Regions from separate parts of the Homo sapiens genome. Here region 1 is linked to region 2. The links are contacts of gene promoters, found by promoter capture Hi-C in human tissues and cell types (Jung and others, 2019). All regions are on one chromosome and are shown on one strand. The core of a region is centred on a gene start or on the middle of the fragment in contact, and the rest is flanking DNA. Distances in the headings are between cores, read along the strand shown. Region 1 has its middle 33 kb from the start of CLASP2. Region 2 holds the start of CLASP2 (cytoplasmic linker associated protein 2).

What was found. The method cuts DNA at HindIII sites, captures the fragments that hold promoters and counts their contacts. A contact is called where the count stands out against the background at its distance.
Region 1: a fragment that was not itself captured here is called in contact with the fragment with the promoter of CLASP2 in region 2 in 1 of the 25 tissues and cell types used here (H1 embryonic stem cells).

Annotation. Positions count from the first base shown.
Region 1 is chr3:33,750,158-33,753,075 of GRCh38, reverse strand. No RefSeq gene overlaps it. Among named protein-coding and RNA genes, the nearest start is that of CLASP2, 33 kb to the right of the region's middle. The HindIII fragment of the contact is 7,887 bases long and covers 1-2,918 here.
Region 2 is chr3:33,716,855-33,719,577 of GRCh38, reverse strand. It overlaps CLASP2 (cytoplasmic linker associated protein 2), which reads left to right and starts at 1,324. Exons shown (of 39, transcript NM_001365631.1): 1 at 1,324-1,770. The coding sequence starts at 1,576. RefSeq lists an enhancer at 963-1,052 and a silencer at 1,253-1,592. The HindIII fragment of the contact is 13,875 bases long and covers 1-2,723 here.

The sequences.
Region 1 (2,918 bases), core at 71-2,570, 34 kb before region 2:
AGGGTTAATGAGTGCCTGGAAAAATACATTACAATGAACTATGTCAAGATACATCATCTTGAAAGTTTACTACAATTGAAATAAAGCATTCTACAACTGCTCAGTGAAAACACTGAAATCCAGAAGACTTTGAGCAATGTCTTCTAAAATGCAAGATAAAGTTATTTACAACATAGAATTCTATAGACAAACCACTCAATAGTAAGTGTAGAATAAATGCAGTTAGAAATACTAGGTCTTAAATAATTTATCTTCCAGTGGAGGATATGCCTCACAAAATACAGGTATAAACCAAGAAGGAGAAAACTATAGAATCCAGACAATATGCAGGTATAAACCAAGAAGGAGAAAACTACAGAATCCAAGATACAATAAACCAGAGAAGGGAATTCCTTGAATTTTAGTAAAATGAAGTCAAGACAGCTGTGTAGCCCACCTAGAAAGCAATCAGCCTAGGCTAGGACAGAACAGAGGGCTCCAGGAGAAATATCAAGCAATTGCACTGATAAACTTCTATGTGTTTATAGCCATTGGGAAAAGTTTTATGATTCTCACAAATATTTTGAGAATGAATTAATGCTAAATATGTGAAATATTAAACAAAAAACCAAGGCAATTATATATTCACAGGTTGCATGCACAAAAAATTGCACAGAAAGGAGATATAATCACAATTTTCTATGTGGCTCAGTAATAAACAGTTACATAGTTCATAATAAAATTACTATGAATATTAAGCTAACCACAAATTGTGATTTAAATATATTGGAAAAATGGGATGAGAGGAAGTGAAAGTGAGGAAAGGAAAATGGAAATGTAAGAAAAATAAATTCTGAATTTCCATTTGGAAAAGAATAGCTAATATTTAATTTTGAAAAATTTTTAAAAATGGCCTCATAAACTGGTATTTAGAAATATGGTAGTAAGTACCAAAAAAAAATGCTTAAACAGGTTACTTATGGGGAGTGGAAAGGAAAAATGGGGAAAGGTGTGCTATTTTTTACTGTCAAGTTTATTGAACTATTTGACCTTTAAAAATTATTCATGGTGGGCAGATCACCCGAGGTCAGGAGTTTGAGACCGGTGTAGCCAACATGGTGTAATCCCATCTCTACTAAAAAGACAAAATTAGCCAGGTCTGGTGGCACATGCCTGTAATCCCAGCTACTTGGGAGGCTGAGACAGGAGAATCGCTTGAACTGGGAGGCGGGGGTTGCAGTGAGCCGAGATCGTGCCATTGCATTCCAGCCTGGGAAGTAAGGGCAAAACTCTGTCTGGGAAAAAAAAAATTATTATTCATGTGTATAATTAAAATATTTTATTGAAATACAATATGTATACATAAATGTTCACATTTACAAGTAAAATTTTGATTTAAAAAATACATTTAAATAAGTCAAAGGAACCATAAAAAGCTTTACAGATGTGGCCTCGGGCATAGTTCACTGTTGATGGAAATGATGAGCCACTAAAAGTGTTTCTGAAGGTATGATTTCAGAAGCATTGGTTTGTGGTTCTCAAGCACTTTGGAGTTTTCTGAAGAAAAAGCAATAAACAATATTACTCATTCTTTTGAAATAAAAGATTAACTGTGACTTTCTGAGAAAGCTGATTACGTTCTTATAAGTATTACAGTCTTTTTTTTCTACACTGTTCTGAAGGTACATCAGCAATTTCAGTCTTAAAGAAGGATCTGAACTGCTCATTTTGACTAAAGTTCAGTTAACCAGATATAGATTATCTTTGCCAGAGTGTTTTGGAGTTATTTCTATGTGATTGTTTACTTTTGTCAAACTTAATAACATGGCTCTTGGAAGCCAAAAGTTAGTAATGAAAACAGTAACTGAAATACTACTACTAAGAATAATTTAGCTATTCTAGGCATTTGTCAACATCATTTATTTGGGCTAAGCCCAATTTCAAGCCTTTAAAAATGAACAATAAGTGGAAATTTCAGAACTCCAAAGAAACAGTAATTAGTGAAATATTCTGCTGCTCCTTTTTCTCCATGGCAATGCCCCCCAACCTTGCTTGCACACTGGAATCACTTGGGGAGCTTTTAAAGTTCCAGTCCTCAGGCCACACCTCAGAACAGGTAAGTCAGAATCTCTGGAGGTGGGACCCAGGCATTGGTATTGTTAAAACTCCCCAGGTGATTCCAACATGCTGACAAGGTTGAGAACAACTGCTTAACGGAAAATCATAATGAACAACATTCAGGTACTATCACATTGGTTTCAGTCCTTTTTTTTTTTTTTTTTTGAGATGGAGTTTCACTCTTGTTGCCCAGGCTGGAGTGCAGTGGCCCAATCTCAGCTCACTGCATCCTCTGCCTCCCGGGTTCAAGTGATTCTCCTGCCTCAGCCTCCTGAGTAGCTGGGATTACAGGCACCCGCCACCACGCCCAGCTAATTTTTTGTATTTTTAGTAGAGATGGGGTTTCACCATGTTGGGCAGGCTGGTCTCGAACTCCTGACCTCAGGAGATCTGTCTCCCTTGGCCTCCAAAAATGCTGGGATTACAGGCGTGAGCCACCATGCCCGGACGGTTTCAGTCCTTTTCTTAAATAATCCTTAAACCTCTGCTGTGAGATCCTCCAACTTTTTTGAGGGGAAGGCATTAGGGAAGGGGAGATTATCCTCTCAACCAGACACTGGCTTTAAAGGAGATGTTTGCTCCAACCCCCAATATAACCCCGCTTAGGGCAGTAAAGATTGGCAGGGATGACATCCAATCATAACTCCACTACCCACTTGAGCTTAGCTTCATGAGCAAGTTCCTCTCTGCTCTTTAGTTGCATTATTAAATAAAAATTTAGCACATTTTAAAAAATAACAGTTTCATTGGGTTATGATTTATATACCATAAAACTCATCCTAAGTCTGCTGTCTTAAAAAAAGGTCACTCATTGAAAGTGC
Region 2 (2,723 bases), core at 75-2,574:
TGAAAAAAGAACACAGAAAACAGTCAATTTCTTTGAATTTTGAGTTTGTTTATTCTTAGTTATTGTGAATATTTCAAATATCAATTTTTGTTGAATTCATTCACTCATTTAACTTAAATTGGCCACCCATTATTTGCTAGGCACCACCCTAGGAAAACACAAAGGTTCCTGGAGCTTTCTGTGTATTAGAAGAGAAAGATATTACATAAATAATCATTTTGTTGTGATTGGGAATAATTGTCAAGAAGATAAACACAGTGTGCTTTTGGAATGTATTAGACAACTTTACCCCCACCAGAATGGCTAAAACTAATAACCCTGACCATATCAAATATTGTGGAGCAACTGGAACTCTCAAGCATTGCTGGTGGGGATTTAATATGATCCAGTCACTTTGGTAAACAATTTGGCAGGTTCTTCTAAAGTTAAACATACAACTTACAAGACCTAGTAATGCCAGTCCTTGGTATTTATTTACCCATGAGAGAAGAAAATATATCCACACAAAAACTTGTGCACTAACCGTTGTAGCAGCTTTATTCATAATTATAAAAAATAGGAAACAACCCAAATATCTACCAACAAGTGAATGGATCGACAAATGGTAGTGATTCCACAGAATGGAAAGCAATAAAAAGGAATGGACTTCTGAGACACCAACAGCGCTGGATGGACCCCAAACGTTATGCTAAAAGAAACCAGACTCCAAAGAAGCACAGACTGTATGAAGTTCAGGAACAGGGAAAACTATGTTACCATGCTAGAAATCAAATTAGAATTGCCTAGGGAAGAGCAGATAATTGGGAAGTGTCCTGGGACTTCCTGGGGTGTTGGAAACGTGCTGTACCCTCACTGGGGTGGCGGTTCCACGGGTGAATACATTTGCCGAAACTCATGAAGTGTACGCTGAAAATCTGTGCGTTTTACTTTAGGCAAACCTAAGTTTTGTTTTGTTTTGTTTTTTTAAGTATTACACAGTGACTGTGGTGGTGGCTGGAAGCAGAAGTCAGGAGTGTATTCTTTTTTTTTTTTTTTTTTAAACCGGCAGTGGGGGCGGGAAAGGGGGATGCCAAGTACTTTCCTAAGTGTTGAATACAAGTGGAGGCAAACTTGGAAACGTTCCACATTTCACAGGGCGAGGGCAGGGTGCCCTGACAGCGGCTAGCAAAGAACGGCCCGCCTCCCAGGGGGCTCGGCCCAACTCGGACCCCAAGTCTCCCTAGAGGTCCTATCGCTCCCAGCGGTTTCCGCAGCCACCTCCACCACCTCCGCAGCAAAACGCTAGCCGGACTGGAGGGCCCTCGCCGGCGTCGTGCTGACGTCACGCGCGTGCTGACGTCGCCCGCGGCCGCGGCCTCTGAAGCGGGCTGGGGATCGGGGGGCGCCGAGTTTGACTAGTTTGGGGGCGGCTGGGCGCTTGGCGTTCCTCCCGCCGCCCGCTGCGCCCCGCAAGCCGCGCCCCTGGCGGGCTAAGTGAGTCCCGCCCGCTCCCGCGGGGACCCGCACTGGAGGCTGGGCGGCTCTCGGCGAAAGTTGGCCGCTCACAGACTGGCAGGCGGGCGGGCGGCCGCAGCCATGGAGCCCCGCAGCATGGAGTACTTCTGCGCCCAGGTGCAGCAGAAGGACGTCGGCGGCCGGCTGCAGGTCGGCCAGGAGCTCCTGCTCTACCTTGGCGCCCCCGGCGCCATCTCGGACCTGGAGGAGGACCTGGGCCGCCTAGGCAAGACAGTCGACGCGCTCACCGGCTGGGTGGGTTCGAGCAACTACCGGGTAAGCGACGGCGGCGAGGCTGGGCTGGTCACGCCCTCCGCGGCAGCCCTTTAATCCCGGACGCGAGCGCCGGGCCGGGAAAGCTCCCGTCCGAACCACTGCTTAAGAGGGGAAACACACTTTGGGAAGCACAGGCGGGCGGATCACGAGGTCAGGAGTTCGAGACCAGCCTGACCAACATGGTGCAACCCCGTCTCTACTAAAAATACAAAAATTAGCCGGGCGTGGTGGCGGGCGCCTGTAATCCCAGCTACCCAGGAGGCTGAGGCAGGAGAATCGCTTGAATCTAGCAGGCAGAGGTTGCAGTGAGCCGAGATCGAGCCACTGCACTCCAGCCTGGGCGACAGAGTGAGACTCTGTCTCAAAAAAAGTAAAAAATAAATAAAAATAGGGGAAACAGGGGGGTCCCGCGTCCCCACTGGGCAGACCGCCTCTTCGTACGCGAGCCGAGGACTGACTTGTGACCACATTTTTCTACACTTGTGGACAATGACAAATTCAGCGATTCCGTGACACGTTGCGGAGTTACTAGGACACAATGTTGATCACTTATTTTGAAAAAAAAATCAGTGAAAGACTTCGACATTTGTGTTCACCTGTGTAAACACTACCCAGACCAACAGATAGGACATTAGGATACGATTTTAGGTTGATGTGTCTTAGTAGATAGGCTAATGCTGGGGGGGAAAAAGTTACAAAGATGAGGTGCGAGAAAGAATGAGCCTTTCTGAAGAGTTGGTGGTAGGCAGGGTGTAATGTAGCCGCGTTGGGAGGCCAGGTAAATATTTTGTATTTAACTTGCCCCGTAGTCGTTAGTAGTTACTTTTCTTTCTTGTCTTCTGGTGGCAGTGTTGCTTTAAAATGCTGACTGCAGCTTCCCATGGATGAAGTGATTCTTCTTAGTAACATATTCTCATGATCCAGCGAATAGGCTGTACTTTGAAACCTTTTAT